2 separate regions of the Homo sapiens genome follow, and region 1 is linked to region 2. The links are contacts of gene promoters, found by promoter capture Hi-C in blood cells and fetal thymus (Javierre and others, 2016). All regions are on one chromosome and are shown on one strand. The core of a region is centred on a gene start or on the middle of the fragment in contact, and the rest is flanking DNA. Distances in the headings are between cores, read along the strand shown.

Region 1 (6,305 bases), core at 824-3,323, 220 kb before region 2:
CCTCTTTGCAGTTGAGATAAGAGGAAGGCATCTATCTCCTGCTCGTCCCTGGGAATGGAATGTGTCAGTGTAAAACCCGATCCTACGTTCTATTTACTGAGATAGGAGAAAACCACCTTATGGCTGGAGGTGAGACATGCTGGTGACAATACTGTTGTTTACTGCACTGAGATGCTTGTATAAAGTCAAACATAAATCTGGCCTACATACACATCAAGGCACAGCACCTTTCCTTAAACTTATGACACAGAGTCCTTTGCTCACATGTTTTCCTGTTGACCCTTTCCCCACCATTACCCTATAGTCCTGCCACATCCCCCTCACCGAGATGGTAGAGATAGTGATCAATAAATACTGACGGAACTCAGAGACCAGTGCTGGCGCGGGTCCTCCCTATACTGAGCGGTGGTCCCCTGGGCCCACTGTTCTTTCTCTATACTTTGTCTCTGTGTCTTATTTCTTTTCTCAGTCTCTTGTCCCACCTGAGGAGAAATACCCACAGGTGTGGAGGGGCTGGCCCCCTTCAACATGCAGGGCTACACCCTGGGCTGGCATGCAAGGTGCCTTCCTCATATCTCTCTCCTGTTCCTCTCCACGAAAGTGTGGCTGCAGAGTGCAGCGGGCACCTAGGTTCTAGTTCCAGCTCTGCCCCAACTCAAAAATCACTTGCGGAACATCTGCTGAACACAATTTTCTGTGACTCTTTCTGTCTCCCACCCAGGCACACCCTCCTGAGTCCTGCGGTTCCCAACCTGTAAAGCCTTCCCACCTGTCAGGTCCCACAGATACAGCAAGCCCTCCCTCTCTCAGCACATAAGAAGGCTTTAACTGGGGTCAGTGTTTCACACACCCAGAGGAAAAGCCCCTCTTCAAGCCACATCTTCCAAACCCTCAGCCAGGCCCTTCCACGCCTCCAAACCCACATACTGAGGTGATCCAAAGGCAGCGCAGGGAGAAAAGCTTGTTGACAGACCACCCACGGAGGGCTGGAACTAAACCTGCTCATGGAAAGGGCTTGCCAGGGGTTGGACACCACAGCAGGAGCCAGAGAGACTTCCCTTCTAGCCTGGCTTTGCCAAGATCTCCCTGTGCACTTGGCAGGTTTCTTTCTGGCTCCCTCTTAGGATCCAAATGCACAAATCAAGAAGCTTGAACTCAGCCAGGCGCGGTGGCTCACGCCCAGCACTTTGGGAGGCCGAGGCAGGTGTATCAACTGAGGTCAGGCGTTTGAGATCAGCCTGGCCAACATGGTGAAACCCAGTCTCTACTAAAAATGCAAAAATTAGCCAGGCGTAGTGGCGGGCCCCTGTAATCCCAGCTACTGGGGATGCTGAGGCAGCAAGAATCGCTTGCACCCGGGAGGCGGAGGTTGCAGTGAGCCGAGATCGCACCACTGCACTCTTGCCTGGGAGTCAGAGCGAGACTCCGTCTCAAAACAAAACAAAAAAAAACAAAAAACAAAACTCTAAGCTCTCCAGATCCCCTTGGCCATTACACTCTGCGATTCCAAAGTCCTCAACCCCTGGCATCCCACTGGTTGTCACGCTTGCGTTTTCGCATTCCAATAGGCAGCAATCGTGAGATTCTTTGGCACAAAGCAAAACTCCTCTTTGACCCAGTGAGGGAAAGGCCTTCCACCACCTGCCTTGACACTACCGTTTCCTTTCTTCCCCCGTGCTCTACCTGGCTCAGAAAGTGCGGAATATCTTAGGGCAAGGAGAGATTCTGGAGAGTTACACATCTGCTCTGCCCGCCCCATCCCCTGTCCCTCGGCGGGTCCGGCGGCTGAAAGTGCCGCTGCGAGTACCCTCAGGCCGCGCCCATCCCACTACGCTCCGGCAGTCACCTGGAGCCGGAAGCGCTGCGCCGCCCTGTCCATGTTCTCCAGGCCCGCTCGCTGCCTCTGTCGCGCCCGGACCACCGCGCCCCGCGCCGTCCGGCGCCCGGACCAGCGCAGGGCCACGGCCGCCGCCACGAAGCAGCAGGCCAGGGCGACCCCGGAGGCGCCAGGCAGCGCGGCCCACAGCTCGTACTGCACCATGATCCCTTCAGCCTGCTGCTGCCTACCGCGACAGTTGAAGCCGCCGCACGCGCAGCCCGCCCGCTCCGCCGCAAAACCCGGACTGGATCAGCCGGGATCCCACGCCCGCCTGCGCGGGAGGGGCGGGGAAGCGCGCCAGAGCCTAGAGGCTATCAGAGGCGGCCCGCCTGGCATCGCCCCCAGCGACATCCCGCTCCCCGCCAAGCCGAGCAGGCGGGTGGGGAAGGGCGACTGTTTCTCGTGGGCGACCTCCCAAGCTTGAGTTTAGCACCGGTTGGGCACCACAGCCCCGGCCGTCCTCTGCCCCCTGCACCCCAGAGCCCCAAATGCTGAAGACTGCGCCCCAGCCGGAGCCCCATGCCAGACATGCCAGCTGTTAGATATGAGTTCTAAATTTATCTTAAAAGAATCAATATGTCAGTATCTTCAATTCTTTGCCTTCTACTTTTAAACTTAACTTCCTCATAAAGCAACATTTTTCGATTACCTGCTCCTCCCTCACTCATTCTTCACCGTGGTTCATTCCGATTTCCTGCTCTGCGGTAACCATTTTTCCCGCCAAACCACTCACCCCCTCACTGTCTTTAAATTAGCCAATCGGAATTAGTTTAGCCTATAGGTCTAACCCTAGCCAACAGGGGAAGGACACAGCATCAGGAATCACGTGGGTCAGGCATAAGAACCACCTTCCCCTCCCTTGTCCAGGTGTGCGCTCACCTTTGCTCCGTCTGTGAGGGCGCACCCTTCTATAGAAGTAAATTGCCTTGCTGAGAAGAAAAAAAAGAAAATTTTATATTCGAGTGCTATTTCTTTTGCGGCACTGGGGGGAAACTTTATTTATAACAATTTGGGGGCTTGCTCGTGATTACATTCCCCTTCAGGGGCAGTCTCTGGTTCTCTCTCCTGAGGAGGTATGCCCCACCCTCTTGTGATGGCCTCAGGGGTGAGAAATCAGGACTCACCCAGTGCAAGAAATAACCTGAGCTCTCAGCAATGTGAAAAGAAACCAGCAGGCAACCTAGGGTAAAGCATCCTCACACACTGCAGAGACAACTCTGTGCACAGACAAAGGAAGAAGCCGAGGGAGCCGGTAAGGTACTTCCTTGGTGGTCAAATTCTGGAGGGCTAAATGTGTGTGTGCGTGAATGATCACAAACAACCCTACCTGTGGTGTTGTTCGTGTGGATGATGACAAGTCCTACTGCTGGACGGAGTGAGTGGGTCCTCTCCACGTTTCCGTAGCTACCTCATATGGCTTAGGGAGGATCCTGCGGTGGGATTTCTACTGGAATGCCAATGCTGAGGGGGGCCTAATTCTCCCTTGGGGGAGCAGCCAGAGAGGACAACACGAGTGGGAAGTGTGCAAAGGACCTTCAGAGGGGGAAAGGGAGGAAACAGGTCAACCTTCCAGGGAAGCAAGGCAAGACACCTCCTAGTTTGAGGGATTGAGCCTTCCAGGGCAGCAAGGCAAAACACCCCCTGGTTTGAGGGGTTGAGCCTTCCAGGTCAGGCAAGGCAAGATACCCCCTGGTTTGAGGTGTTGAGCCTTCCACAAATTTCAGGGGATCAAAAACCTCACACAAACCTCCGGTAGTAAGAAAAATATTCAGAATTCCCCTTTCCTTTCTTCTCGGGGAAGAAAAAGTAGCTGCACTCCTGACGGTCCCTTCCCTAGGGGAAGGGGAAGGAGAGGGGAGAACAGCAGCATAAGCAGCTGGCAGAGGCAGGGAAAGACCAGCAGAGAGGAAAGAGAAACTGGGAGAGGAAGTTGGAGAGAAAGAGAGAGGCAAAGAGAGAGAAAGAGAGGCAGAGAGAGAAAGAGACAGAAAGACAGAAGCCAGGCGTGGTGGCTCATGCCTGTAATCCCAGCACTTTGGGAGGCCAAGGCCGGTGGATCACGAGGTCAGGAGATCAAGACCATCCTGGCTAACACCGTGAAACCCCATCTCTACTAAAAATACAAAAAAATTAGCCAGGCGTGGTGGCGGGCGCCTGTAGTCCCAGCTACTCAGGAGGCTGAGGCAGGAGAATGGCGTGAACCTGGGAGGCGGAGCTTGCAGTGAGCCGAGATCGCGCCACTGCACTCCAGCCTGGGTGATAGAGCTAGACTCTGTCTCAAAAGAAAAAGAGAGAGAGAGAGGGAGTCAGAGACAGGGAAAGAGAGAGAGAGTCAAAGAGAGAGAGAGAGAAAGAGAGATAGAAGTAGTAAAGAGAAAACAGTGTACCCTATTCCTTTAAAAGCCAGGATAAAATTCAAAACCTGTAATTGATAATTGAAGGTCTTCTCCATGACCCTATAACACTCCAATACCACCTTGTTGTCAGTGTAAACAAGGATGTAGCCCAAAAGCACTGAGGCCACTGACAACCCGTAACCTCCCTAATCAAAACTCCTTAACCCAGTAACCGGCAGATGGCCCAAATGCATTCAATCTGTAGCAGCAACTGCTTTGCTAACAGAAGAAAGTAGAAAAACAACTTTTAGAGGAAACCTCATTGTGAGCACACCTCATCAGGTCAGAACTATCCTAAGTCAAAAAAAAAAAAAGGTAGCTTACTGACTCAAGAACCTTAAAGTATGAGGCTGTTCTGTTAGAAAAAAATGATTTAATATTAACCACTGAAAATTCCCTTAACCCAGCAGGTTTCCTAACATGGGATCTAAATCTTAATTAATTACCATACAAAGGTCCGACCAGACCTAGGAAGAACTCCCTTCAGGACAGGATGATAGATGGTTCCTCCTGGGTAATTGAGGGAAAAAGACACAATGGGTATTCAGTAAGTGATAAGGAAACTCTTGTAGAAGCAGAGTTAGGAAAATTGCCTAATAATTGGCCTGTTCAAATGTGAGAGCTGTTTGCACTCAGCCAAGCCTTAAAGCACTTACAGAATCAGGAAGGACCCATCTATACCAATTCTAAGTTAATATGGACTGAATGAGGTCTTATTAATAGCAAAGAATAGTTGAAATTCCAAACTTAAAATGTTTTCAACAAAAGTTAAAAAAAAAAAGTGAAAAAATGGCTACCCTCTTTGGGTCCCCTCCCTTTGTATGGGAGCTCTGTTTTCACTCTATTAAATCTTGCAACTGCACTCTCTTCTGGTCCGTGTTTGCTATGGCTGGAGCTGAGCTTTCGCTCGACATCCACTGCTGTTTGCTGCCATCGCAGACCCGCCGCCGACTTCCATCCCTCTGGATCCGGCAGGGTGTCTACTGTGCTCCTGATCCAGCGAGGCGCCCATTGCCGCTCCCAATCAGGCTAAAGGTTTGCCATTGTTCCTGCACGGCTAAGTGCCCAGGTTCATCCTAATCAAGCTGAACACTAGTCACTGGGTTCCACAGTTCTCTTCCATGACCCACGGCTTCTAATAGAGCTATAAAACTCACCGCATGGCCCAAGATTCCATTCCTTGGAATTCGTGAGGCCAAGAACCCCAGGTCAGAGAACACCAGGCTTGCCACCATCTTGGAAGCGGCCCGCCACCATCTTGGGAGCTCTGGGAGCAAGGACCCCCCAGTAACATTTGGCGACCACGAAGGGACCTCCAAAGCAATGGGAAACGTTCCCCACAAGGCAAAAACGCCCCTAAGATGTATTCTGGAGATTTGGGACCAATTTGACCCTCAGACGCTAAGAAAGAAATGACTTATATTCTTCTGCAGTACCACCTGGCCATGATATCCTCTTCAAGGGGGAGAAACCTGGCCTCCTGAGGGAAATATAAATTATAACACCATCTTACAGTGAGACCTCTTTTGTAGAGAAGAAGGCAAATGGAATGAAGTGCCATATGTACAAACTTTCTTTTCATTAAGAGACAACTCGCAATTATGTAAAAAGTGTGATTTATGTCCTACAGGAAGCCCTAGAGTCTACCTCCCTACCCTGGTGTCCCCCCGACTCCTTCCCCAACTAATGAGGACCCCCCTTCAACCCAAACGTCCAAAAGGAGATAGACAAAGGGGTAAACAATGAACCAAAGAGTGCTAATATTCCCCAATTATGCCCCTCTCCAAGCAATGGGAGGAGGAGAATTCGGCCCAGCCAGAGTGCATGTACCTTTTTCTCTCTCAGACTTAAAGCAAATTAAAATAGGCCTAGGTAAATTCTCAGATAACCCTGATGGCTATATTGATGTTTTCCAAGGGTTAGGACAATCCTTTGATCTGACATGGAAAGATATAATGTTATTGCTAAATCAGACACTAAACCCAAATGAGAGAAGTGCTGCCATAACTGCAGCCCGAGAGTTTGGTGAT
Region 2 (5,596 bases), core at 2,025-4,524:
TTTTTTGACAGAATCTCACTCTGTTGCCCAGGCTGGAATGCAGTGGCGCAATCTTGGCTCACTGCAACCTCCGCCTCCCAGTTTCAAGCGATTCTCCTGCCTCAGCCTCCTGAGTAGCTGGTATTATAGGTGCACACCACCACACCCAGCTAATTTTTGTATTTTTAGTAGAGACAGGGTTTCACCATGTTGACCAGGCTGCTCTCGAGCTCCTGACCTCAAGTCATCCACCCACCTCGGGCTCCCAAAGTGCTGGGATTACAGGCGTGAGCCACCGCACCTGGAACCTTTCTGTTTCATTCTCAGGAAGAATTGGGACCAGATTACATTCATCTATGGCCCTGGTGCTTGGCACATAAGAAGTTGTCAGTGAACATTTCCTGAGTGAATGAGTGCAGAATAATGAGAGTTAAGTGCTCTGGGTTTTGGATCTTGATCATCATGGATTTGCTTCCTGCCTGCCTCTAATTGTGTGACTTCACCTCACTGAGCCCCAGTTTCCTTATACAGTGGATCCTCCTTATTCACAGATTCCATACCTGTGAATTTGCCTGCTTACTGAAATTTATTTGTAATTCCCAAACCAGTACTTGTGGTACTTTTGCAGTCATTCATGGACATGAGCAGAAAGGCAAAAAATTTCAGCCGTCCAACACACGTATTTCCAGCTGAGGTCTGTTGAGCAAGAGGACTCTCTGTCTTCTTATTTCAGTTTTCATAGAGTAAACAAATGTGCTTTTTGGTGGTCTATTTAGTGACGCATATTCTCACATTTTTTGGTGTTTTTTGCTGGTGATTTTACTGTCTAAAATGGTCCCCAGTTGTAGTGCTGAAGTGCTCTCTAGTCTTTCTAAGTGCAAGAAGGCTGTGATGTGCCTTATAGGGGAAATATGTGCTTTAGATAAGTTTCATTCAGGCACAAGTTATAATGCTGTTGGCTGTGAGTTCAATGTCAATGACTCAAATATAGATAGATAGTTAGATAGATAGATAGATAGATAGATAGATATATTTTTTTTTTTTTTGAGACAGAGTTTCACTCTTGTTGCCCAGGCTGGAGTGCAATGGTGCAATCTGGGCTCACTGCAATCTCCACCTCCTGGGTTCAAGCTATTCTCCTGTCTCAGCCTCCTGAGTAGCTGGGACTACAGGCACCCACCACCACACCCAGCTAATTTTTGTATTTTTAGTAGAGATGGGGTTTTGCCATGTTAACCAGGCTAGTCTTGAACTCCTGACCTCAGGTGATCTGCCCACCTCGGCCTCCCAAAGTGCTGGGATTACAGGCTTGAGCCACCATGCCTGGCCAACAATATATATTAAATAAGGTGTCTCCACACATAAAATCAGGTTATATGTATAGATCAGTTGACAAAAATATTGTGACCAGAGGGTTTCAGGAACCTAACCTTGCATTTACCCTTTGTTCAGTATTTAGTGTTTGTGGCGACTTTATAGAACATTACTGGGAATAATGAGAATTGACTGTATATAAATAGGTATAATGATGGCATATCCTTGTAAAGTAGCTGAGATTAAATGAGATAACGTTGGTAAAGTGCTCAGCACAGTGTCTGGCACGTAGTAAGTGCTCAAAAAACATTGTTAATATTGTTACTATATGGATAAGTGAGAAAGTGAGGAAGTGAGTTCCGCCTCTAGGGCCTCTTTTCCCAAGGGGCCAAACTGAGGCTGTCTGGCTCTTGGGCTGGCTTTTAGGCCAGACCCAATAAAGAAGATTGTGAAGGAGCCTGACCCATGAGGAGGGGCCAGGGCCCACGACTTGTAATAAAGGGCCCTGCCCTTATGCAGACTTTGTATGTCATAGAGGCCTCAGCTACCCTGGCCAACAGCACCCCCCAGGCACACTGCAGAAGCTCCCTGTGCCCATGGGGCCATCTCGGCTTGTCCGTGGCCCTCGGCCCCAGGGCATGCGTTCCCCCTACCGCAGGCCAGGTATGGGCTGGCCCAGGCCCCGATTTCCCAGGATGTTCAAGTGTAGCCGCAGAAGATATCAACAGGGTCTCCGAGGTCGAACTGCCAGCAGTGCAGCCATCAATCCTGCCACCAGGGCCATGGGTATCAACAACACCCACACTGACACCACCATAGTGTGGATCTTCCCACCTCAAGGTTAGCCAGGGGGCCTGTGAGCCAGGGTGGGGTTTTAAAAAACAGAGCCACTAGGCTGGGTGCGGTGGCTCATGCCTGTAATCCCGGCACTTTGGGAGGCCAAGGCGGGCAGATCACAAGGTCAGGAGATCGAGACCATCCTGGCTAACACGGTGAAATCCCATCTCTACTAAAAATACAAAAAAAAATTAGCCGGGCGTGGTGGCACACGCCTTTAGTCCCAGCTACTTGGGAGGCTGAGGCAGGAGAATTGCTTGAACCCGGGAGGCAGAGGTTGCAGTGAGCCAAGATCGCGCCACTGCACTCCAGCCTGGGTGACAGAGCTAGACTCTGTCTCAAGAAAAAAAAAAAAAAACCAGAGCCAGTGAAGATTTCCCTACCTGGTTCTGTTTAGGCACGCCAAAGGATGATCTCTGTGAAATAGCACCCCTACATATATGGGGGACTCCTGATGGCAGGCACCCCAAAGTGCTGACAGCCTTAATGGAGGATGGATTGGCTGGAAGCAGAGGGTTTGGGGAGGGGCTGAATCCAAGAGGCAGGGAACTTCCAGAACTGCTTCCTTCCTCAAACTCTTCCCTCTCCTTCCTCTCCTCAGTTCTCAGACATCTCAGGCAACCTGGGATTTTTCTGATCCTCTAGAAGTGCCCAGAAGCTAGCCCAGAAGCTTGGTTTGCCCTGGACCTGCATCTCCTAGGGGCCGTGTGGGTGGTGAACAACAAATACAGTCATTCTGCTCAAACTGCCTTATTCCACACAGAGGTGTTAACCAGCTGACTATGCAGGGCGTGAGGGGAGGGTTATGGCTGAATACTTACAGGGAAAGGCTTCAGTGACCGCAGCAGGGATCATAGTTTAAGACAGCAGGAGGACAGGACAAGGTCAGCAACATAGACCATCTTTGGTCTCAGCTCTTGATCTGCCCCATGAAGTAGGGGCTCTCTTGCCTTACACTCCTAACTGCACAGGGAGAAGGGTCTCTGTAAACATCTTGGAAGGTATTGGGAGGCACAGATCAGAGAGGGATAGGATGAAAGACTGAACCCTGAGAGTACACAAGTATGAGGTGGATGTGAGGTGGATGTGCCTCTGTGTGCCTGTGATGGTCAGCGTGTAGGTGTAGCTGCTGGTGTGTGTGTCTGAGGCCGGGAGAATAGGAGTATCAGTAGATGTGGCTGAATGTGCCTTTGTGATTTAATGTGCCTCTGTGACTGACTGTGAGTGTCAAGGAGCGTTTGTGAGGGTATGGGTGTGCCGGAGAGGACATCAGCCCTGGTAAGAAAAGTGAAGGTCAGGAGGGGGATGGGGAACAGCCTAAAGGAGGAGAACATGGAGAAGGGTGAGATTCTGAGAAAGGCATACTACCTTCGGCCCTTCAACCATTCTCTGAGGTCAGTGTTTTCCAGAACTGGCAGCTGAGCTGGGGTGCTTAGGGGTGGGGCAAGACTGAGTTTGAGCCCAGAAAGTAGGGAGGGTGCTAAGCTCTCTGGCCTGGGGATTTTCCATTTGGATTTCTGAGTGTGTGCTCATGTGTCACTGGCTGTAACCGGGTTTCTGTGGGGTTGTGTCTTAGTCGCTGGGAACATTTTGTAGGACTCTGTCTCGAATATGTTGCATCATGCATGGGCTAATACGTGTTGCACCGGTCCGAGATCTGGCTGCATTTCCAGGCTACCTTCCCAAGGGGCTAGGGAAGGGAGTGAACCCTGAGACCTTTGGTGGCCTGGCCCCCTGGGGTTCAGGAAGTGTGGCTAATGTCCTTTGCTGCCTGTGAAGGGAAAGTGAATTGTGCTTATGTCTATCTACCCCAACTCTTGCCAGAGACTGGGACCCTGAGGGGGGTTGAGGCAGAGAATTCACTGACACACCATGCCCAGACGGTGCTGGGCTCCTCAGGTTATGGGATGGGGGTTGCTGAACATCAGTCAAAGCTAGAAGGTGCTTGGGCCATGCTCAAGGGCCCAAGAGGGGCCATACATATAAAGATACATGACACAGTTCACAAACACATGCAGACATGTAAATATAAGTGAACTCATAGACACATACTGCAACAACCACACACATGCATGCAAGCACATACTATAAGCAGATATACGCAGACACAAATGCATAGATCCCCACACGATATATGTAACAACACATACGCATGCCTCTAAATGAACACAGACAGAAACATGCATGCACCCAGACACAAGCACACAAGCACCCAGATGCAGACACATGCCTTCACACTCATGCAAACCCAGGCACACACAGACATACACGCATGCAGACACACTCACCAGACTTCCCTGCCCCTGCGGCCCTGGGACCCAGAAGCCTCCCTCCCCTATATGAGTGTGTAGTATGTGTGTGTGCATGCACTCATGCCCACACTTGTGTCTGTGTGTATCTGTGTCTGTGAGAGTGTGTGTTTGTGCTCGAGTGTGTGTATGATGGGGGTGCTAAGCTGTGGGAACCAGATGACATCATCTCTTCCAGCTATTTTTAGCTGTATCTGCGATGATGGCTTCTTCACTGCCCCTCCCCCTTCAGGTTCCTAATTCTCCTCCCCATCTAGGCTCCCAGAGGCAGCAGCAGCCAGAGGGCACCCACCACCTCAGTTTAGGTGGCTCCCGGATGAGCGGGTGCAGCCCACTCTCTCCCACCCTGCCAGAGTTCCCTGGTGGCTGAGAACACCAGGCTCTCAGGCTGGAAGGGCCTGGGTTAGCTGAGCTGACCTAGATGGTCTCCACCCCTTAAGGTGCCTCTGCTTCTGCTTTTCAATCTGCAACTCTGTGTCAGTCAACAGTGCCTGCTATGTGCCAGGGATGGTACTAAATTCTGGAGATACAGCAGTGAGCAAGGCAGTGGGAGTTCTTTCCCAGAGGAATTATAGCTCAGTGAGAGGCACATTACACAGATTACACAAGCTCTTCATTAAATCGTGAGGAGGTCTCTGAGTACTTGTAACAGGGGCTCCGTTTGCGATGATGTTCTCTGCCTCTCTCTGTTCTTCCTTCTCCCATAGGTGAGATAACCTGAGGAAATCAGAGGGAATACAGCCCTTACCTTGCACCCTTCATCCTAACAACCATATCTCCAGAATTCCACAGAGCAGTGCTTCCTTCTCACACCCTAGGCTGTGCTCCCAACATGGCACTAACACACCATCCAACTAATTGGTGGCCCATGATACTCATATCTCCTTTTTCTTTGTTTGTTTGTTTCTTTTTTCTTTTCTTTTTTTTTTGAGACAGCGCCTGGCTCTGTTGCCCAGGATAGAGTGCAGTGGCGCAATCTTGTCTCACTGCAACCGTCTTCTCCCAGAGTCAAGTGATTCTCGTGCCTCAGCCTCCCTAGTAGCTGGGACTACAGGCATGTGCCACCATGCCTGGCTAATTTTTGTATTTTTAGTAGAGATGGGGTTTTGCCATGTGGGCTAGGCTGGTCTTGAACTCCTGGCCTAAAGTGATCCATC

The links. The method cuts DNA at HindIII sites, captures the fragments that hold promoters and counts their contacts. A CHiCAGO score of 5 or more calls a contact.
Region 1: the fragment with the promoter of FAAH here is called in contact with the fragment with the promoter of TSPAN1 in region 2 in 3 of 17 cell types (neutrophils, total B cells and non-activated CD4 T cells); the score reaches 8.5 in neutrophils.

Annotation. Positions count from the first base shown.
Region 1 is chr1:46,390,085-46,396,389 of GRCh38, reverse strand. It overlaps FAAH (fatty acid amide hydrolase), which reads right to left and starts at 2,073. Exons shown (of 15, transcript NM_001441.3): 1 at 1,847-2,073. The coding sequence starts at 2,041. RefSeq lists an enhancer at 1,672-2,185. The HindIII fragment of the contact is 1,150 bases long and covers 1,151-2,300 here.
Region 2 is chr1:46,172,765-46,178,360 of GRCh38, reverse strand. It overlaps TSPAN1 (tetraspanin 1), which reads right to left and starts at 3,274. Exons shown (of 9, transcript NM_005727.4): 1 at 2,952-3,274. It overlaps P3R3URF-PIK3R3 (P3R3URF-PIK3R3 readthrough), which reads left to right and starts at 1,873. Exons shown (of 10, transcript NM_001303427.2): 1 at 1,873-2,133. The coding sequence starts at 1,890. P3R3URF (PIK3R3 upstream open reading frame) reads left to right here and starts at 1,873. Exons shown (of 2, transcript NM_001328655.2): 1 at 1,873-2,133; 2 at 2,732-2,875. The coding sequence starts at 1,890. The coding sequence ends at 2,775. It also overlaps a transcript of PIK3R3 not described here. The HindIII fragment of the contact is 4,826 bases long and covers 2,803-5,596 here.